Linked DNA regions of Homo sapiens: all the other regions are linked to region 1. The links are contacts of gene promoters, found by promoter capture Hi-C in human tissues and cell types (Jung and others, 2019). All regions are on one chromosome and are shown on one strand. Each heading gives the region's core, a stretch centred on a gene start or on the middle of the fragment in contact. The rest is flanking DNA. Distances are from core to core; before and after follow the strand shown.

What was found. The method cuts DNA at HindIII sites, captures the fragments that hold promoters and counts their contacts. A contact is called where the count stands out against the background at its distance.
Region 2: a contact is called between a fragment that was not itself captured here and the fragment with the promoter of FOXA1 in region 1, in 1 of the 25 tissues and cell types used here (mesendoderm cells).
Region 3: a fragment that was not itself captured here is called in contact with the fragment with the promoter of FOXA1 in region 1 in 1 of the 25 tissues and cell types used here (H1 embryonic stem cells).
Region 4: a contact is called between a fragment that was not itself captured here and the fragment with the promoter of FOXA1 in region 1, in 2 of the 25 tissues and cell types used here (H1 embryonic stem cells and mesendoderm cells).

Annotation. Positions count from the first base shown.
Region 1 is chr14:37,592,661-37,598,399 of GRCh38, forward strand. FOXA1 (forkhead box A1) reads right to left here and starts at 2,589. Exons shown (of 2, transcript NM_004496.5): 1 at 2,241-2,589; 2 at 1-51. The coding sequence starts at 2,312. It overlaps TTC6 (tetratricopeptide repeat domain 6), which reads left to right and starts at 2,969. Exons shown (of 33, transcript NM_001310135.5): 1 at 2,969-3,348. RefSeq lists enhancers at 2,525-3,384, 2,898-4,097. The HindIII fragment of the contact is 7,361 bases long and covers 1,244-5,739 here.
Region 2 is chr14:37,884,789-37,890,527 of GRCh38, forward strand. No RefSeq gene overlaps it. Among named protein-coding and RNA genes, the nearest start is that of LINC00517, 14 kb to the right of the region's middle. The HindIII fragment of the contact is 7,378 bases long and covers 1-5,739 here.
Region 3 is chr14:37,317,009-37,322,747 of GRCh38, forward strand. The region is part of intron 9 of MIPOL1 (mirror-image polydactyly 1); the gene reads left to right. Among named protein-coding and RNA genes, the nearest start is that of MIPOL1, 120 kb to the left of the region's middle. The HindIII fragment of the contact is 5,880 bases long and covers 448-5,739 here.
Region 4 is chr14:37,854,963-37,860,701 of GRCh38, forward strand. No RefSeq gene overlaps it. Among named protein-coding and RNA genes, the nearest start is that of LINC00517, 44 kb to the right of the region's middle. The HindIII fragment of the contact is 4,961 bases long and covers 977-5,739 here.

The DNA of each region.
Region 1 (5,739 bases), core at 1,339-3,838:
CATGGAGCCCAGGCCTGAGTTCATGTTGCTGACCGGGACGGAGGAGTAGGCCTGGAGTGGAGACAGCGAGTGAAGAAGCCCCGGAGGGCGGGGTTAGTGGTGGGCACTGGAGGGCGGCCGTCCGGGACCTAACCCGGGGGCAAGTGCAGAGCACTTTGCAGAACACGGGACGCCCCCACCCGGGGCAAATGGCTAAGCGCCCTCCCCAGACCGAGCAAAGATGTCTTGCACGGCAGGGGGAAAATCCTAGCGCGGCAGGCATGAAAGATAAACGCTCACAGAAAATATGACCCCAGGAAGATGTGTAATCGCCTTACACGCCAGGCTCAGGGGCTGGCTTCCAGGGCCCCCTCATCGCCTCCTCCATCCACGCCAGGCGGTATCCCAAGTCTCCACCCCAACCAGCCTCGGCAAAGCGCCCTTTGGGGGGAAATCGTTGATAGAGCAAATCACCTATGGACATGGGACCCCCTGAATCATCTGTTTCCCAACAAGTGGCTTTATTGTCCTAGGGGTTTTTGCCTATGGTGACTTTTTGTTGTTTATTGTATTTAGAAGTAGTGTTTTCTACCTGCTTGTAGCAACTGTAATGTTAAAAGGGAAGCAAACTCAGAGTTAAATAAGTTTTGGAAAAATAAAACTAAAAGTAGATCCATAACAGAAAGGGCTGGGAGGGGGTGCTATAATAATCTCAAAGTGCTATATGCATTTTATTTTAACATGACTTTACATGTACACCTTTGCAAGCTATTTAGAAACTCGCATTAATTTTGTCACCACTTTACAGTCCCCTGTTTGAAAAATTTGGTGACACAGTTTGTCAAAATAAATCTTTTTTTTTTTTCACATGCTGATGTTGCTGCCGATGATTTCAACGCCTGGCTTTGAGATTCCGTGAGTAGTCTTGAATAATTTAAAATTCGAAAATCAAATTCTACTTATTTTCTCTTAATGCTATTGTATTTCCTAATTCTCAGCTTTAACATGTAAGAAAGTACTTTCGCTAGGGGTCTTAATTGAATGGTGGGGTCGAGATGACTGCGTCAGAATTAAATCTCTGGAAGACCTCTGAGCTCCTTTTAAAATCATCAACAAGCGAAAATCCTTATCAATAGCGATGTGGGAATGCATTAGGTACAGTATTTTAAACATACAAAACCTAGGCATATTAAAAAGCACTCCTCTGGTAATTTAATAAGGAATAATGATGTCCTTAAGTTTATTTTAATCAGCAAGTATGACTCAATTTGAAAATATGAGAACAAATAGATTTAAATAGGAACACCCAGTAAACTATGGTATGCAAATAAACTCAGAGGTAAACTTGTGAATACATAAATCTAAATAAGTCAGTTACCATCAAAATATTACGTGATCCTATATTTTTCTGTCCACGTCTTAAAAGTATTTTTTACCTTGGGGCTTTATTTTCTTTCCCTCTTCCCAAGATTATCCAAGGCAGTTCCAATACGCGTTTTCAATAATGGTAATTAAACTTTTGGAGGGTAATCGCCAGCTGTTTCCAGAAAAATACTTTTAATAGGTGGTAGTCCTCCCTGTAACTGGTTTTCCCTGTAATCCTTTTGTGCACATTGTAAAAATAACCCCCATGAACGTGCCACCAAGGGGACAATGAAGAGAAACAGGTTCTCGGCCCAGAGTTGTGAAGAAGATTTTGGTCGCACTAGCGCCACCCAGCGGTTTTAGAGAAGGAGCACACTTCTCCCCAAATAGGGCTTTTGAAGAACAAGTTTTACAAAATTTAGAAATCGTTTCATTATTGAGACACCCAACTTGGCGGCAGAGCGCTTTAATCAGAAGACGTCTGCGAATTAAACGGTGGGACGAAGAGGTCGCCTTGTGGGTATGCTCCGGCTTTCTCAGAGTTGCTTCCAACTCGCACCGGCGCTCGCCCGCCCGCTGCACCCCGGGCCCGGCTCCTGCTCCCGCTCGCTGCTGGGAAGAGGCAAGCGCTTCCTAGAGCCGCTGTTTTCAAAGCCCGGAGTTTCCTAAAACTCCCTCTCCGGCTGCGAGAGTCGGGACAGAGCAGGGCAGCAGGTCCCGCTTCCAGGCCCGGCCAAGGCCCGGCCGGGGCCACACCGGCGGGCGGGCAGCGGTGGCACCGAGAAGGCGCCCCCGGCCCGCCTGCCTGCCTTGCCTGGCGCCCACCGCTCCCCGGCCTCCCCCGGCACGGGCTCCAGCGGCGCCCCACCGGCCGCCCGCCTCGCCTTGCCTCTCACCTCCTGCGTGTCTGCGTAGTAGCTGTTCCAGTCGCTGGTTTCATGCCCTTCCATCTTCACAGTTCCTAACATCCTGGAGCCACCCTGCCCAATACAACCATCCAGCCCTGTGCGAAGCGACGGGCGGCCGCGCGGCGCGGGGCGGGGGAGGGGAGCTGAGCAGCTGCAGTCACCCGAGCGCCCGCGCGGGCCCAACGCCACCCGGGCGAAGAGGAAGCCCAGAGCTGCGGGGCGCGGCGTGCGCGGCGGCGGCGGCGGCGCGGCGGGCGGGGGCAGCGCCGGGGGCAGGCGGCTGCCGCGGAGCGCGGCGCCGGGGAGCGCCTCCGCGGGAAGTGAGCGGGCTGCCTCTGCGAGGCAAGTGCAGTTGAGCTGATGTGGATCTTACGTCGCTTGAGTGCCCACCTCCTCGTCCTCTCCCCATTTGTCCGCCGCACAAAGACGCTCGCACCTACAAAGCCCGAGGTGCACCTGCAAGGCGGCCGCCCGCCAGTCCGGCCGCCGCGCCTCCCGCCCCGCCGCTTCACCGCTGCGCGCGACCCCTCCCCCGCGACCCCTCCCCCAAGCGGGGCCCTCACTTTGTTTGCAAAGCAGTGTAATTGGTTTAGGCCCGGAGGCTAGGGAAAGAGGGAAATGGGGAGGGAGGGGGTGTAACCCCCTTTGGAAAAAGAAAAAATAGGCGGGGCCAGGCGGGCGGGCGGGCTAGGGCTCTGGATCGGAACCTCGCAGCCGGAGAAGGCCGGGGGCGGTGGCGTCGGAGACTGGGCTTAGAGACCTTGTGGGATAACTGACCCCGGGGTCCCTCCCCAGAGGTACACGCCACCTTCCGAGCGCGGGCTGCGGCCCAGTCTCGCGCCCCTCCTGCTCTTTGCTTCCTCCCTCCTGATTCCTGACCCAAAGTTCAACCCCGGGAGACTGGAGAATACAGACTTTTTTTTTTCTTTCCTCCTGAGAGCTTCAGACTAGAAAAGGGAAAAAGCCCCACTTTTGCTTCGTCACTAGAAACCGGGTCATCTGAGTCAGCCGAGCCAAGTGACGTTAGGCCGACCCGGGCCCCGGGCTAGCAGAGCGGAGGCGCTGCCACGAAACTCGTACCTGCGGCTAAGAGCAGGTGAGTCACAGCACCGGTTTATATCTTTATGACATAACTTTTTTTTTTTGTTCCGCCTCGGTCCGCTCCTCTCCCCTTGTCATCTGTAGCGACCACAAAGAGGAAGAAACTGAGAGCAGATGTCTGTGTGATAGGGCAGGCGGACCCAAGTCGGGCCGTCCTCCCCCTGCCGGGCTCCTCCTCCCGCCCCCCTTCAGCCGCTTCAGGGAGTGAGCTGGAGACGACCGTCTGGTTTCTGATAGGAAAAGGTCAGGGGGAGGGGACATCTCCCATAACACGCGCGTTAGCTGGGAGAGCAAGGGCCTGGGCGCGGGAACGCATCTGCACTGCGAAAGAGATGCCAGGCAGAAGCCCGAGACTGCCCGCAGCGGCGCTTGGTCCTGTCTGTGACCCGGAGGGTCCGGGCTGAGATCTCAGGGGCTCGCTTGGTTCCTAATCGGTCCTGGACGTCGGTGGGAGAGTCTTCCCAACGCAAAGTCTCTTTACTCTCATGAGGCCCTGGGTGGTGGTTGCCCACTTGTCCTGGGAGAGAGAACAACTGAAGTGACCGGGTGATAGGCAATTAGTTGGTGATAGATTGGGAGATGGTGCGTGTGTTTTGAGTGTGTGACCGTTTGTATATTTCTGAGCATGTGTGACTGTGTGTGTTTCTGAGTGTCTGTGACCATGTGTTTGTTGTACTGCCTGTAGAACCACTAGGTTTCCTTAAGTAACAATAAAATAAAATCTAAAGTAATTAAGAATCCGCAAAATCTTCTTGTTTTGCAAAGTTTTTAAAATGTTATTAATCTCATTTTAAGAAATGTGTTTTAACTTGTCTTCCAAACAGATACCTTTTTCCCTGTGCTTTGTTCTTTTAAATCTCTTTTACTTGAAATCTGGCAAGAGAATCACTTTAAATCCCTGAACCAAACAAATCTCTTAAGTCAGCAGGGGAGCAGAGAGGGTGAAGATGTGCAGTTAAGGAAATAAAAAAAGATAAAAGCATTGGATTACATTTTTTTTTTTTTTTTTTACAAAAAGGGTGGGGGGGTAGAAACGTCACATCATAAGGAAAGGAATGAGTGAAATTAAATCCACCTGGAACTCAGTAGGGCAGGAACCCTCCCTAATGCAGCCTGCTCCTGTGACTGCAAGTTGTCCCATCAGTTTGTGTAAATGTATCTGCGAATTGTGTGTCAGAAACTAATTCTTTTGTGCAAAGTTCCCATTAGTAGCTGACTTTAGTTCCATTTGTAAAGTATACGGATGCTTAGCTTCCTGGGCCTGATCCGGGGGACTTTCAGTGCTAATGAGCTTCCTTGTTCCTTCTGGAGGTGATTCTCCAATACCCTCTTGGCTCTTCAATAACACCGAGCAAGACTAGGTTATTTTCTACCGAGAGTAACAATTTATGGATAGTAATAGCTTTTATAGTGCACAAAAAAGTTGGCGCTTTAAGTAGGGGAAAAACACTGTCACCTTAAAGGGGGGGTCAATTACAATATCAAATGTTCTTTTAGCCCACTTCCCAAACCTACTAAGTCTCATATTTTCAAAAAAAAAAAATTGACTTAAGAAAAAAAAATCCACTTTTCATAGCGTGATGGCCGAAGCGGAATTTCTCCTAGGCTTCTTCAAAGCCCAAGACCGGTGATGCAGAATGGACTCTGCCAGCTTCGGAGACTTGATCCAGGTCAGGGATCCCAGGTTCGCAGCCGGGGGATTTCCACGAAAACAGCGCCTCCTGTCGTGGAGAGGGAAAGCTGAATTTTCCCGCAGGCGCCTCCGGGGAGCACCGCCAGGCGATACTGGATTGAACTCCGCACGCATCCCAGTCAGGGATTTAGGTTCTTAGAGCCGAGGCCAAGATGGAAGGAGAGATGGCCGTTCGTCCAGCTCCCAGCCTCTCTCCATCTCAGTGGCCGCATTGCAAGATACCTAACAAATTTAGGAGGTGAGGTTCTAGTGTACCCAGATGCCAGCCAGTCACTTTCCCTGAGGTTTAAAAGCGAATCAGCAGGGTCGTGTTGGGTCTTTGACTTGGAAATGCATACATACATACATAAAGTAATGCTGCTGTCTGGGAGTTGCTGGCCAGTCGGTAGCCAGGTCCAGCGGCTGCAGCCTGCTCTTTTCCAACCTCTTTTCCCAAATAGGCACCTACACCATTGGAAACTGTGCTTTGCAAGGATTGTGCTGCTCGTTGGAGGAAACCAGGCCTGTCTTCAGCTGTGGGGAGGATGGGTGGACTCGGGGCAGGGTACCCGCGAGGGCAGGCACGTGGCGGCTCCTGCGGTGTCCCGGGTTAAACTTGCCTGTGTTTAAGACGGGTCTGCGACAGCTTGGGGCGGTCCAGGTCGCGGGGAGGGCGGGCTCCTCAAGTGGGGGATCCGCGGCAGTGAGGACTGT
Region 2 (5,739 bases), core at 904-3,403, 290 kb after region 1:
AAAGCAGTGGTGAGAAGGGACATTTTTGCTTGTTCTTGATCTTAGTGGGAAAGCTTTGAATTTCTTACTACTAGGTGTGATGATATCTATAGACATTTTGTAGATGCTCTTAATCAAGTTGAGAAAATTCGTCTCTATTCCAAGTTTGCTGACAGTTTTTATCATGAATGTTTGATTTTGTCAAATTATTTTTCTGTATCTAATAATATGATCATGTGATTTTTATTTTTTAGACTATTGATGTGCTAGATTATATTAAATGATTTTTGAATGTTGAACCAATCTTGTGTACCTAGGATAAAACTTATGTGGTTGTGGTATAGAAGTATTTTTATACATTATTGGATTTCATTTGCAAATATTTTGTTGAGGATTGTTGCTTTTATATTCATCAGTGATATTGGTCTATAGTTTTCTTTGCTTGTAATGTCTTTGTTTGGTTTTGGTGTTAGGGTAATTCTGGCCCCATCAAATGAGTTAGAAGGTAGTCCCTCTGCTTCTATCTTTTGAAAGAGTTTTTTTTTCTTCCGTTGGAGCTGGTATTTATGTTTGTTTTTCCCCCACTCCCAAATCTCTCCTGGATATCCGGTTTTATGTTGATTTTTTTTTTTTTGAGATTTTAAAGAATTTGTGTAATTTCTTCCTTAAATTTTTGTTAGAATTTACCAGTGAACCCACCTGGGCCTGGTGCTCTCTGTGTTGAAAGGTTATTAATTATTTATACAATTTCTTTAATAGATATAGACTTATTCAGATGCTCTATTTCTTCTTTTGTGAATTTTAACAGATTGCATTTTTCAATAAATTGGTCCATTTTATTTAGGTTGTAACATTTATGGGCATAGTAATTATTTTATTATCCTTTTAATGTCCATGGGATATTTACTGAGGTCCCTAATTTCATTTTCATTTATTGATTTGTGTGTTCTCTCTCTTTCTTTTTTTTGCTTAGCCTGGCTAGAGGCTTATTGATTTTTATTGATCTTTTCAAAGAACCAGCTTTTGGTTTTACTGATATTTTTCTATTGATTTCCTGCTTTCAATTTTATTGATTTCTAGTAATAATAATAATAATAATTTTCTTCTGCTTATTTTGGATTTAGTTTGTTTTTCTTTTTCTAGTTTTCTTATGTGGAGACTTAGATCATTGACTTTACATATTTCTTCTTTTCTAATGTAATCATTCAATGCTAATATAATCATTCAATGCTACAAATTTCTCTCTACACAGTGCTTTCACTGAATCCCCCCAGTTTTTTAAATTGTATTTTCTATTTTATTTAGCTTAAAATATTTTGTTTATTTTTTCTTTTTTTGACAGAGTCTCACTCTGTTGTCCAGGCTGGAGTGCAGTGGCATGATCTTGGCTCACTGCAACCTTTACCTCCTGGGGTTAAGCAATTCTCCTGCCTCAGCCTCCTGAGTAGCTGGGACTACAGGCACGCACCACTACACCTGGCTAATTTTTGTATTTTTGGTAGAGACAGGGTTTCATCATGTTCGCCAGGCTGGTCTTGAACTTCTGGCCTCAAGTAATCCACCTGCCTTGGCCTCCCAAAGTGTTGGGATTACAGGTGTGAGCCACTGTGCCCAGCCAAAATATTTTAAAATTTTTATTAAGATTTTTTCTTTGACCCATATTATTTAGAAGTGTGTTGTTTAATCTTCAAGTATTTTTAGATTTTCTAGACATTCTTCTGTTATTGATTTCTAGTTTAATTCCATTGTGGTTTGAGGTATTATATGATTCTATTATATTAAATTTGCTAAGGTTTGTTTTATGGCCCCAAATGTAATCTATCTTTTGGATGCTTCTCGTGAACTTGAAGAATGTATATTCTGCTACTGTTGGATGAAATAGTCTATAGATGTCTGCTATATCCAGTTAATTGATGATGCTAGTGAGTTCAACTATGTTCTTACTGGCTTTCTGCCTGTTGGACCTATCCATTTTTGATAGAGGGATATTAAAGTCTGCAACTATAATAGTGGATTAATCTATTTATCCTTGCAGTTCTGTCAGTTTTTGCCTCATGTATTTTGATGCTTTGTTGTTGGGTGCATACACATTAAAGATTGTTATGTCTTCTTGAGAGTATTGACCCTTTTTTTAAATCATTATATAATGTTCTTCTTTATTCCTGATAACTTGTTTGCTCTGAAATCTGCTCTGTCTGAAATAAATATCGTTACTACATTTTTCTTTTGATTAGTAAGATCATGGTATATCTTTTTCCATTCGTTTAATCTATATGTGTCTTTATATTTAAAGGGGATTTCAGCTGGACAACAAATAGTTCATATAGTTGGTCCTTGTTTTTTGATTCCTCTGACAATTTTCTTTCTTTCTTTCTTTCTTTTTTTTTAAGAGTCTATTTCTGCCTCTCAGGCTGGAGTGCAGTAGTATAATCACAGCTCACTGTAACCTCTAATTCCTGGGCTCAAGCCATCCTCCTGCCTCAACCTCCCAAGTAGCTAGGACTCCAGGCATGTACTACTATGCTCAGCCAATTTTTAAAGTTTTTTTGTAGAGACAGGGCTTTGGTATGTTACCCAGGCTAGTCTTGAGCTCCTGGTTTCAAGTGATTCTCCCACCACAGCCTCCCAAAGTGCTGGAATTACTGGCATGAGCCATTGCACCTGGCCAACAATCTGTATCTTTTAATTTGTGCATTAGGCCACTGACGTTTATGGTGATGATTGATATAGTTCAATTAACACCTGCTACATTTGTTACTGTTTTCTATTTGTTGCCCTTATTCTTTCTTCCCATTTTTTCCACTTCTTTTATGCATTTTGTGGTTTTAAAGGAGCATTTTATATGATTCAATCTTCTCTCCTTTCTTATCAATTATACTCATTTTTTAAAAGCTTTTTTTTTTTTAAAGTGGGTGCTCTAGAGTTTGCAATACATGTTTACAACTAATTCTACTTCACTTTCAGATAACACTATAACACTTCATGGGTACTGTGAGTACCTTACGATAACAAAGTATTCCTAATTCCTTCCTCAGCCCTGTTTCTTGTGTCTTCACTGCCATTCACTTACACACACACGCGCGCGCGCGCACGCACACACAGACATATATAATCAAATACATTGTTACTGTTATTTTGAACATGTTATTATCTGTTAGATCTATTAAGAATAAAAAAAGTAAATGTTTTTATTTTACCTTTATTTCTTCAGGTACTGGTTGCTGTGAAGGTTTCTGCTCTGCTAAGTTGTGATTCTCTGTATCTGCCTGTCTGTCTCCAGTTTTTGGGGTGGTGGTTTTCCCTGTGACCTCCCTTCTCTGATAGATCTAAGAAGAGTTGTTGATGTTCCTGTTTGTTTAGCTCTTCACTTTTTGGGTTGCAGTGAAGACTTGTTAGCTGCTTACATGCCAGATTAGAAACTGGAAGTCTGTGTATTTTCATAAAAGGGATACAATACATAAAGAGATACAATCTATTGGAATATTATACTGTAAAGTTAGAAAAAAGCTAGAATGAAGCTACCGCTTTCTCTTCTATTTTTGTGATTTTAAGCCAGGAAAAATGAGAGGATCTAATTCCCTTCAGAGAGATTTCTTACTCTCACTGTGGGTAGCTCTGGAGCCCTTCTATATGAATATGTTATCAGTATATTGTAATGTATTCAGTGTCCTCTGGGGGCCTGGCAGTGTGCTGGTACTCTGCACACATTCATGCCAACAAACTTGAAAGGTAGAGATTATTTATCAACATTTTTTTCTGATGGGGAGAGGCTCAGGTTAAATGGCCTCTCTAGTGCCAAAAAAACTGTAACCAAGGAGTAAAAATATAAGCTAGATAGCTTAATCTACAAAGTCAGAACCTTTTCTATTATTTATAGATAATTCACTACTTCTGTATTTTCAGTATTTAAAGTCTGCACTGTCCAATATTGTAGCCACCAGACACATGTGGCTACTGAGCACTAGAAATATGGCTAGTCCAAATTGAGATGTCGATTTCAAAGACTTAAAATGGATATATCTTGTTAATAATTTTATATATTGACTAAGTGTTGAAATGATGATAGTTTAGATATATTGGGTTAAAGAAAGTATATTATTAAAATTAATTTTACTTGTTTCTTTTTATGTTTTTAATGTGTCTACTACAAAATTTAAAATTACATTTTTAGCTTGCACTATATTTCTGACAGCTCAAATCTCAAGAGAAGGTGAGAGAATTGGTGAATTTTATTGTCCTGCACATGCCCTAATTAACAAGGGTGACTTTGTTAATTTGTGCTCTGTGTCCTAGGCTGCTGAATGTGGCATGGACCACTCCCTTGCAGTTGTATGTAATGTTCACTCTCTGCTTAGAGAATCTGAGCTTTTTAATTGTGCCTGCCAGAGGCTCATCCCTTCAGCTCAAGGTCAGCGAGATATTTTGGCTCACACCCAGATGTCCCACTTTCTTAGCTGGCTGTGTGCCAGGCTGTCTGTCTGCTGCTGTGTTGCACTGTCTCTAAGCCACCAAAGTCAGTGTTACCTTGTTCCCCTGCAGATCTTGTGAGACAGTCCATGGGGAGCTTTGGCCCTGAAAGACTTGGCTAAAGGCCTGTGAGTCTTTAGAAATGGTGCCAGAAGCCCTGTGGAGAGCAGCGTGATTCTGGCGAAAATGCAAATATCTTCTATATACAGACGTCTCATACACCTTACCCCACATTCCAACACCTCGTTGGCTTTACTTAAAGGGCACATCATAATTCTTGTTGTCTTACAAATTTTGAGTAAACTTTTCAGATGCCCAACCAAATCCTGGGTTATGAGCTCCTTTGAATGATGAATGAAGCAGAAAAGTAAAAATAATAGGTTATTTTACTTTCCATATTGGTTGTCTGTTTCAAATCTGTTTTTACTAAGCTGAAACCAAATGAAATTCTCATCATATGTACTTAATACACTTTCATTCATTCATTAATAAAGCATCATCTGGGCAATAGGCACTGCAGGTGACCCAAATAATACATACTCCCTTCCCTCAAAGTACTTTTGAAAGCCACATATGTAAATGGACACAATATAAGCTAAATGCCAAATTGCATTTAAGGGTCTCAACAGAGTGCTTTTTGTAGGTAAGAGGGGAAAGAACCTTTGACCAGGATGATCAGGGCAAACCATCAAGGAGAAGGTATAATTTGGGCTGAACGTTGAGGGATTAAGAGAGCCTACTCCAACAAAAGAAAGGATGTTAGGGTAATGGAAAGGGGTCAACAGTTAGGTGAGAATATGATGTTCTTGTTTGGGAGGAGCAGGAGATGAGGTCAGGAAGGTGGGAGATCACACTGAATATAATTATTCAATGCCAGGCTGAGGATTGTCAATCTATTTTTCTCCCTATAATAACGTTAGGGTAAACAAAATAAAATTATTTCAAGAAACATATACAATGAAATAATAAAACATAAATGAAAACTACCAGACAAGGGGAAATACAAATTAAAATAAGAAGACAAGAACAGATGACATTGCTAAGGAAAAACTATTTATAAGCCTCCTAGTGGCCAAAGCAAAAAGGAACATAAGATTGATAAAATTATTACTGTCCATGAGAAAAAAACTAATTCTATGAGAAAAGTGACACCAAATTTAAAAGAAATTTCTTATGTGGGTTTAATAATGTATAGAAAATTCTTTAATCATATAGATTTATTTAAATGTCCTTTTATAAAATAAGAGAGAAAATACTGTGTATAGTGGTGCTTTCTAAGTAGAATGTGCATAC
Region 3 (5,739 bases), core at 2,138-4,637, 270 kb before region 1:
TTGCAGTACCAAGTCCTGGAGTAGATGAGTAAATTGATAGGAAATAGGTTCTAGAACATAAGTATAAGAATTGGCTTTTGTTAGGAACAGGGAAACTACTTTCATTTTAACAGATGTATGCAAAGCATTTGGATAGATACAGATGCTGGCAAGTTGATAAATTTAGTAAAGGGAAGTTGGGGGTGCAGTGTCATTATTAAAATGTTAGATTAATTTAGATTTTCAGTGGATTAGTGGATGGTGCTGAAGATTTAAAATGTGGAGACAGTTTGAAATCATTGTCTTTGTTTCTATATAAATGAACATAACTAGAGAAATGTAGGATTGCCAGGCAGAGCTGAATGCACATTTAAGAATTAGGGTAGTTAAATTTTTAAAAACGTGTCAGGGAAGTTGTGTGATTTCCTTTAGCAGTATTCCAATCTCGAGTGTGGTGTGAGTAGTGTGGTGTAGTAGATATTTGATTTTAACTAAGACTGAGATTTTAATGGGTGAGGGACCAGAGAGTTATTACAGCAATGAATTCCAGACTCTCCCTCACTGTGGACTCTCCCTTATGTAAAGAGGAAGAGGAGTGATGAGGCACATAGAAAGAAACTGAGGAGAGTGTGGTATCACAGAAGGCAAGGTCCCGGATAGTAAAAAACTGGTAAGTCCATGTATTAGAATTCTTGGTTTGTCAAGTAATTGTGCTATAGTGATTTGCAGTCAAGAGAAAAAGGCACTAGAAATAAAGATTTCGAATATAGCAATTATTAAGGTTAGTGATTTCCAGATATTTTTCTGTGTAATTTTTATGTGGTTGTATAGGAAAAAATCCCTAAATGATACATATTTTATCACACAGTCAGTAAGCCAGATTCAGAAGTGGTTAAAAAGAGGAAGCATATCTAAGGAAAAGTATGAATAATTTAAAACTTGCAAACAATTTCCTCCTTGTTGTAACAAGTATAGAAATTAAGGTCTGAGAAGATAATATAATGACACATATTTCAAGATTCAGAAATGGGTGCTAGAACTTTCCTAGCCTGGTTATGAATTCCTCATTTGGCGTCTGCATGACCAGCAGTCACTGTGATAAAGCAGATTGAGATTAGGGAGTGCAGCATAAGCTAACAAACCCACTTGATGAGCATACCTAGAATCCTGGTCAATGATGTAACCTTCAAGGTTATCTTTTCACTTTAGCAGAGGAAATAATCAAATATCCTAGTGTCTTAACCTCTCCTTTTTTAGTGTTGCCTTTACTTTGTGCTTCTTATAATTAGCATAGTGTCTAGCATGTAATAGATACAAAATAATGATGTTTAAAATATTAGAAATTTGACAAAAAGGTTATACTCGAAAGGAAAATAAAGCATAACATTTAGAGTTATGTTTTTCAGGAAAAGTAGGGAACATATTTGATATTCTTAATTACAGTGGCTGTAAGATTTTCATTAATTTTTTCCCTTGTCAGTTTGTTAATTTGCTTTCCTATCATACAATTATTTGCTTATGCATGTTTTTCAGTCAGTCTTGCTAAAATATATTGTTGATAGTTCATCTGTTGTAATTACTTTTTTCTTACTGTGAAATTTTTACAACTTCTTGAAAGTATATATAACTTTAGAAAGTACAGATAAGCAAAAAGAAGGAAAAAATTGCCCCCAAGCTCACTTCCTAGAAAGTTATATGTAGATTGTCTTTTTTCAATACATATTGTATTGTATATACTACTTTGTAGCCTGATTTTTCACATTGATTTGACATTTTGTTAGACATTCTCATAATTTTACTTCATTTTATTTATTTATTTATTTATTTATTTATTTATTTAGTTAGTTAGTTAGTTAGTTAAGACAGAGTCTCATTCTGTTACCCAGGCTGGAATACAGTGGTGTGATCATGGCCGTGGTTCAGCTCACTGCAGCCTTGACGTCCCAGGCTCAGGTGATCCTCCAACCTCAGCCTCCAGGGAGCTGGGACAACAGGCACACACTACCATGCTAGTCTGATTTTTTTGTATTTTTTGTAGAGACGGGGTTTCACCATGTTGCCCAGGCTGGTCTTGAACTCCTGGGCTCAAGCGATCTACCTGCTTCTGCCTTCCAAAGTGCTGAGATTACAGGCATGAGTCACTGCACCTGGTCTCATGCTTTGATAATGTGGACATGTTAAGATTTGTTTAACTCACCTGCCATTGAGAGTTTTGAGAATGGGAACATTTTTGTAACTAAATTTTTATGTACATCCATGTTTCTTTCTTCAAGGAAAATTCCCAGGAATGAAAAGGACAGACCAAAGAATACAAACATTTAAAAATAAATATATATTTCTAAATAGCCTTCTTAGAAAAGTTGTACCTAGAAATGTTATTTGAAATTTCATTTGGGGACTTTAAGCAGATAAAATGCTAAGAAATGTAGACTTAATTCTCTAGGCAATGTGAAACTTGCAGTTTTTGAGTTTTCTGATAATGCAGAAAGTGCTACTCTTGAGGAAGATTTCTGGGCAAGACTTTATCAAGTGCCTTGAGTAATATGAACATAAGTCTGAGGAGACCAATGATTATGGGAACCTATTATAATTGAGGCAAGAGGTGATGAGGTTCTAAACAAGAAAAACAAGGAGAGGAATAGATTTGAAAGCTATGGAAGCTTCTATTTTTGTAAATGAGGGTATAACTTGAAGGGAAGTAATCTCAAGTGAAGGATTTGATGAATTTTTATATATGTGTGTTCCCTTGAAAGCAGCATCCTGATCAAGATATGGAACACTGCTAGTACTCCAGGAGGCTCTTTCTTGTCTCTTCCCAGTCGGAATTTCTCACCAAAGATAATCACTCCTCTTATTTCTGTCTCCATGGGTCATTTTGCATGTTTTAAAACTTCATATAAAAGGAGTCATATGTTATATACTCCTTGTGTCTAATTTCTGTCACCCAGTGTTAACTACTGTATGTTGATCTGTATTGTTAATAATTATTAATAATGTGTCTTTTTCATTGTGGTGTGATGTTCCCTTGTGTGAATATGCCATGATTTATTTGCATATTAAACATGTTAAACAGATGACAGAAATTTAGATTGTTTTCATTTTTAACCTATTATGCATGAAGTATTATAGAGATTCTTGAACATATCTTTTGGCGGGCCTTAGCATTTATTTATTTTGATACATATACAGGCACATACAAAAGAAAAGAATAGTTGAGTCATAGGTTTAGCTTTATTAGGTAATGCCAAATGTTTTTCCAAAGTTGTGCCAGTTTACAGCAGCAATGTAAGTGAGTTGTTCCAGCTGTGAGAGTTAATACTTGGTATCATTACTGATTTTAATATCAATCATTCTGATGGGTGTATAGTCATATTTCATTGTTGATTTATTTGTATTTTGTGTTTCCCTAATGACTAATGATGTTGGTAGCTTTTTATATGTTTTTTGACCATTTTGATATCTTCTTTTGTGAAATATCTCTTCGAGGCTATTGTCCATTATTAAATTTTGTTGTTTTTCTTATTGATTTATGTAATTTATATATATTTATACAGTCTGTGGCTTGCATTTTTATTCTCTTAATGCTGTCTTTTGATGGCAATAATTCTTAATTTTAATGTAGTCTAATTTATCATTTTTTTCTCCTTATGGTTAATGCATTTTGTATCCTGTTTCAGAAACCCTTGCCATTCCCATAGCACTGAACATGTTCTACTGTGCTTTCTTCTAGAAGCTTGATTATTTTAGCTTTCACATTTAGGTCCTGATCAGTTTCAAAATACTTTTTATATTGTCAAAGTCATTTATTTTCTTCATATAGATGCCTAGTCAACTTGTCTCAGCATCATGCAATTAATGAATTGTGTCTCCCCATCCTCCCAACAACGAATTGCAGTAGAGCCCATGTAATGACTTAGGTTATTGTGTGGATCTGTTTCTGGACTCTGTTCTGTTCCATTGTTGTAGGTTTTTATCCCTGCAATAATACTCCATGGTCTTAATTTCTGTAGCATTATAGTAAGTCTTAATTTGTGATAGTGTAAGGATCCAGCTGTCAAATGTTCTTCAGTATTTCTGCAGCTATTCTCAGTTCTTCATTCAGCTTGTTATTCTTCAAGCTGGTAGTATTTAATGGGGATTGCATGGCCTCTAAAGAATAGTTAAAGCAAGATTGGCATCTTAGCAATATTGAGTCTTCCAAATGATTGATCTTTTCATGAAAATGATTACTTTTTTCTTTATATACTGCTTTGCATCCCATAAATTTTTGATATGCCATTTCTCATTATTATATATGTGTCTCATTATTATATATGTTGAAATATTTTTTAGTTTCTAATTTTGTTTTCTTCTTTGACCCATGAATTATTTAAAAATATGTTGCTTAATATTAAAACATTAGGAAATTCTGAAGCTATCTTTCTGTCACTGAGTTGGAATTTAATTCCCTGGTGGTGAGAAAATATAAGCTATACTATTTCAATCCTTAGAAATTTTTTGATACTTGCCCTGTGACCCTAAATAGGCCCTGTTTCTTAGACAATTCATGAAGTTTGTATATTCTGTAGTTGTTGAGTGTAGTATTGTCTCCGTATGTTATTTAGACCAAATAGGTTAATCGTGTTGTCCAGTTGTTGTGCATAGATGTATTGTTCGTATGTTGTGTCAGTTATCAAGAGAGATGTTTAAAGTATTCAATGATTATGATTAATTTTTCTCCTTTTAATTCTGTGAATTTTCATTTTATTTATTTTGAAGCCATTTTATTATGTACTAAGGTCTTTACGATTACTGTATCTTCCTATAGAATAGACTTTTATCATTATGAAATGCCCACTTTTATTTCTGGTAATACTTTTTGCCTTAATGTCTACTTATATATCTGAATGTTATATCCTTTTCCATCCTTTTCCAAGTTCAGACTTGACCCCAACATCTTATTATGAGAAATTTTAAACATATGGAAAATTTGTATGAATTTTACAGTGAACGTTTATATATATACCACTTGGAATCTATTATTATATTTTGCTAAACTTGATTTATCACATTATCTAGGTATTTATTAGGCATCCCTCTGTCCATCAATTCGTCTCACTTATGATGCATTCATGTAAATGCAGGCATCAATATATTGGCTTCTAAACCCTTCAGCATAGTATATCATTAGATGGAATTCTGTATTATTGCAGTTATTTTGTTTTTATTTAAAAGTTATGCACATTGAAATATAGAAAACTAAGTGCACATTCTCTACGTCTGACAAGTGCATACAACTGTATAGTTACCACCACGATCAAGATGCAGAACATTACTACAGTGTTACCCCAGAGTTTCCTCATGCCCTATCCAATCAATTCATGTTCCCACCTCTCAACGGCAATCACTGATCTGATATTTTTATATCACTCTTTAGTTTTATCTTTTTGAGAAAGTCATGTTTGACATCACAATATATCTAAGATGACCACATTTATTTGTTTTACTCTGTTCTTATATAGATAAGAAATGTATCTTTTTTTAAAACTTGTACTTGGCTCAGGAGGATTTTTTTTAATATTTTTATTTTGTGAAGTAGACCTAGATTTTCTTTCTTTAAAAATATTTACTCATTTATTCATTTATTTTTTCCACATCCTCTCCAGCATCTGTTGTTTTCTGACTTTTTAATGATTGCCATTCTAACTGGCATGAGGTGGTATCTGACTGTGGTTTTGATTTGCATTTCTCTAATGACCAGTGATGATGAGCTTTTTTTCA
Region 4 (5,739 bases), core at 2,207-4,706, 260 kb after region 1:
TTGAGAAGCGGTGCACTAAGAAGTTTCTTTCTTTGATTGAAAAAAGTACTTAAAATAGTACTCAAGTCAGTCCTTGACATTTTTGGTGATTATAAGTTTGTTAATTTTTTTTTGTTTGTTTTACAAGACACTCTGTGGTAACTGGGAGTTCTGCCGAGGGTTTGTGACCATCATCAAAGATTCTTATTAAATGGGCATCATTTTATGTTAGACATATTAAAGAAACATAATTAATCTGAGCTTTGCCACAAAACCAGACATCATTGATGTGGGCAAGCATATATTAAGACATAATTAAACATACGAAGCCTATAGACGCAGCATCAATACAACATGGGTGGATTTGTTTTTGAAATTTTTGTTATTCATCCTCTGTAATCTGTATTTCTTTGATTTCAGAGTTTTCAAAACAATATATTTTTAGCTACTTGTCTATAAAAATTTGGTATTAAACTAAACAGAAATTTAGTAACCTGGGCTGGTTTTATAAAGATTGATATTCCTGAGTACCTTTTGAATCTATCTCAATTTGTAATGAAAAAGAATAAAAATTCTGTCATATGGAAAACTAGTTATGCTATGTGGTACCCATTTTTGACTTTAATTTATGGTATAACCCATGTATAATGGATCAGGCATCAAAGGCATAATTAACAGTTTGAAGTAAATTCTGAAAAATAAGGAAAAGTGCTTATATGCTTTGTATTAAAATGTTTACTCATAATTTAGAGTTCAGAGTATGCCATTATTATACAAATATAAAAACATTCATTTAAGCTTATTTGAGATTCCTGTACTTAGAATATTGATCCTTCCTGCTTTTCAGTGCATGGATTATGCAATATTTAATGTGTGAGGCTTACGTGGGATATAAACTTTCTTGGTTAATAAGATCTCTTTCCTTTTATGACAGTTGCGATTCTGGTAATATGCTCATTAGAAAGGTCAGAGTGGCTGATTTGAAAATGTGTTCAGTACTGGGATGAGTATATTGGCAAGGCTTTTGAATGAGTTTGGGAACTTTATATGTCTTGTTCATAACTGTGCTCTTTTTCATTTCTCTGGGAGGTTTTATGTGACATAATTTAGCCAAAGAAGAGCAGTGTCATTAAAAAGCTATTTAAGATATGGATAGTATTACCAGCTGTAAACATTCTGCTTTCATAGGACCAAAAGCTTTAGAATAAGTGAACATAGCAGTTAATTATAAGCATATCTTTTTCCATTTTACATAATATTATAGGATTTGGATGAGTTATTTCTTTAGTGTTGAAGACTGTACTTTTAAATGTTCTACTTCCTAGCTATATCATTGCTGTTAAACTTCCAGCACACAATAATCAATATATTATTCACATTAACAATAATTTTGTTTCACTGAAACTGTCTTTGAGATTGAAAACAACCAATGCATGCTATCATTTCAGAATACAATAAAATGACCATGTTCATTATAAACAGATACAAAACAATACACATCTCTTCTTAATGGGAACATAAAATCCTTTTCAAATTTGATATGTACTTTTCTAAGTTATATGAAGATTAGCATTGTAAACAGTCAAGTTTCTTATAAGCTTTATTTCCCCTTGGGGAATTTCACTTTCTTTTTCTTCTTTCTTTCCTCAACAAAATCCCAATAATTTCTAAATCAATAATGGAGCGGCCAGCTCATAGTAGGCATTTGATGTGTGTCTGTTGAAATTTGTATTTGGGGAAAAATTTTGATCCTTTAAAAAAGAAAGGTTTTAAAATGCAGACATGGGTTTCAGCAAATCGCAACAAAAAGTCAATGCTAACAGCCAGGATATGGAAGGTAGTTATGTATGTTTTATATCAGTAATAACTAACATGCCTTTTAGTCTTGTATTATTGTGCTTTAATGTTTAGAATAATAAACTTCTACATAAATGCATATAAGTATATAAGTTCCTTGATCTCCCTATATGTCAGTTTTCTGAATCGAAGCAAATTAGCAGTAAAATAAGGCTGTTTCCAGAGATGAAATAGTTCAAAAGACTAAGGCACTTCTTTTTTTTTTTTTTTTTGTAAAGTACGTATCTGGACTTAGGTTTAGAATTGCATGTCTGGAAAAACTATTCATAATCTGCTTTTCTCTCCTTTTCTTTTATTTTTGCCTGTATTTATTTTGGCCAGCTGGTGAGACAGATCTTTTTCAGGGCTCAGCCTTCCAGTCTGAGCGTGGTTCTCCAAAACCAATCTTTGGATTAAATTCCTGTTTTATTCTCTCTGGTGTCTGAACAGTGTTGATGTCAGGGGGCCATGGTGACCCAGTTGTCTGTCCCAAGTGGCTGGTGGCTTGCCAAGTAAAGAGCTTAACTAGGCGGCCACACACTGTTGCATAGTATTGCACCTTAACTAAGCGGCGGCCACACACTCTTGCACCTGGGGAAGGAGGTTGGGGTAGAATCCTTGGTCAATCTGTCTTACCTTTGTGTCTCTCATGTCAGTTGTCTTGTATGAAGGTAGACACAGAGGTCTCCTGATAAAATAAATGGTCCTTTACTCCCTTCCTAGTGTGGCTTTCACCTTGTCTCTAGTCTTGTCAGTACATCTGATGGGCTCACACAAAGATTGATCTGAGGAGGCTGGGGCTTAAAAGTTATCCTTGTCCTGAAAATATTCCATGGCTTTGATTCTGGGGGAAAATGGTAAAATTTGGTTCCATTCTCCGTATAATTTGTTCTAATACGGTTTGAAGATCTTTAGTTAAGTTTGGGCTCTAAGCATCACAGTCAGCCTGAGAAATGACCTTTCTTCTCAGAGGTTCTGGAATTCCAGACCTAGGCATCCCCTGACAAAATCAGATGGGGTGTATTGACTGGGAACCAATTTTCATTTGGGGTTGGGCAGGCTTAACAAGTGGCTAGTTCCCTTCTCTGTCAGCTGTAACACTGGCACATGAACACAGAAGATTTAAAGGGGTCTATACCTCACAGTACTATAACCTTGAATGTGAAGGTCTCAGCTGATGTTGTCACAAAACAGACAGGCTACAATTGAAACCCTTGAGCACCTCTCCCCTCCCTCTTATCCTCCCTCCGCCTCCTTCCTCCCTCCCTTCCTCCCTTTTTCCCTTACTCTCTTCCTCCCTCCCTCCTTTCCTTCCTCCCTTCCTCCTCTCCTCCCTTCTTCCCTGCCTCCCTTCCTTCCTCCCATGTGCTCACTACATACAAAATGGCCACTTTCAGCTTCCCCTGCTTGGGATCAATGAGGCAACCTGGTATGGTAGAAAGGCAACAGAAAGGTCTGGGTGTCAGAATGAGGCTTCGTAGTCATGTCTCTACTAGCTATGTGACTTCAGTTAACTGCTCTGAACCTATTTTCTTATCTGCAGCATAGGCCTTCAAGTCCCTTCTAGCCTTAAGGTCTATGGGTTTGATGGGAATAATATTACCTGCCTACCTGACTGAGTTGTTGTGGGAATTAAAGGAGATCATATTTATGAAACTACTCTTTAAACCCTCTACAAAAGATTAAGCAATATGATACTATTAATTCCCTCTGAAGAATCAAAATAGCTTGCAATTTACTTTTAATCTTCAAGATTGTGTACATATATCTTTTGTATTTAGACCTTTAATGATGTGTACCATAATGCAGGACAAATGAACAGACTAATCTCTCTCTCACTAGATGTTACTCCAAGTCACATTCTAAAGCAGTGGGTTGGAGGGAGGAACTATTTTTATTTTTTTGAAAACAGAGATAAAATTAATCCCAGGTACACAGGGTTCTGGACTTTTTTTTTCCTACTCCTTTCAAAGTTCTGAGAAGCAGTTTACTCTTTCACACTAGAGATTGCTTAAATAGAGCTGGGGACTCAACATTGTTGGGGAGGAATAAGCTGTAGTCCAGAAGTGCCCACAGCCAGGGAACCCAGTTAGAAGTGAGGGACGGTGAGTGGTGGCTGCAGGCAAGACACACTCAGAGCCCAAAGGGAAGTAATGGTAACCTTTGTACCTGGCTGTCACTGTTGAGACACAGCAGTAGCATTATATTAGGTCCTCTATCCTCTTGTGATAGTAAAAGAGTATTTTTTATAGTTCCAGTTCAAAGAGTGACAAAGAAACTAAAATGTCCCAAATATTTTAAATCTGTCTCTATCTATCTATCTATCTATCTATCTATCTATCTATCTATCTATCTATCTATCTATCTTATGTATGTACGTATCTATCTATCTAGTCTGTCCATCTATCTAGTCTGTCTGTCTGTCTACCTACCTACCTATTTGTCTACCTACCTAATTTGGATGTAGCTGAGAGTAGCATAGAAAAAAAATAAGACTACTCGAGGCTCTGAATTGTTCCATAATTGCGCATGCTTCTGAGTCATCTTTCCATCTAGATTGTATGTTCCTTGAGGGCAGGAACTATGTCTTAGGCTCTTTTCATGTCCCTCCCTTACCCTAATAGCATTGGACTCAGTCCTCAGCTCATCACAGGTGTTTGATAACTCCTATTGATGAAGAAGAGGTGGCTGGCAGACAGAAAGAGAGGGGAGGTGGGAACTCCCATTCTTCCTCTCGTTCTCTGTGTCCTTGAGTTTTGAGCTCATGGTTAAAGCTGAGAATTAAGCACTGCCCTTACAACTGCTAGGTAAGCTCAGTAAGGTGTTGCAAGGTGGTGCAAAGGGCCCTGGGAGGAGGGTCCCAGTTGCCCACCCTTTGTCCACTGCTTTGTGATGAATTCTAGATCACCTTGTGGTTACCTGCCTATTAGGAGGTGCTGTTGAAAAGCGACTTTAAAAAAATAGGACTTTGGGAGAGTGGGGCAGATCAAATGAAGGGACCAGCAGTGTTCATAATGGTGCTGAAATTTAATTTCAGTGCTGACCTTTTATTTGACATTTTAGATAATGCTATGGATGTGCTCAGCTATTTGTTCTTAACATATTTTCCATCTTTTGGGGGCACTAATCTACTTAAATTCAAAGTCAACAAAAGAATAGAGTAAATTTTTTGGCTTTACAAATCACCCTTTTGAAAAAAGAGTTCATTCACAATAGCAACAAAATATGCAACATGTATGAATTAAATGTTCACAACTATGAAAGAGTGTAAAACTATGAAGGGGCAAAAAAATTAGAAAGATCATGTTCTGAGGTGGGAACAGTGCTAATTATTATATGATTAATATATAGGTGCTAATTATTCCACATTAATATATGGAGTTTAAAATTCTATTAAAAATCTTAATGAGTTACATTTTTTAGAACTTGACAACAGAATTCAAAAGTCTGCCTAGACGAATAAATTGATCAGATTGAAAAATGCTTAAAAGCTTGAAAACACTAAAAACTAATGAGGCCGTGGAGTGATAGAAACCCTGCTTATAGGAAGGTAAATGTACAAGCACTTTGGAGAACAACTGGGCAATACCTACTATGAAGTTGAAGATGTATACATCCGACAGCCCAGCGAGTTACTCAAGAGATCTTTCCACATGTTTATGGAGATAGGAACAAGAATGTTTTACAGCAAAAGAAACTACATAAAACCTTTTATACAAGGCTATGGGCAAATAATTTAAACAATACATTTCATTCATACAATGGAATATTATAAAGCAGTGAAAATGAAGGAACTGGAGCTACATATATAAATTGCACAAACATTGAACAGCAACAAAAAATAGGAAACAGGATATTTTCATTTACTTATAAGAAGTTTTTTAAAAATGCTAAACAAGTGTATATATTGTTTAGAAATATGTG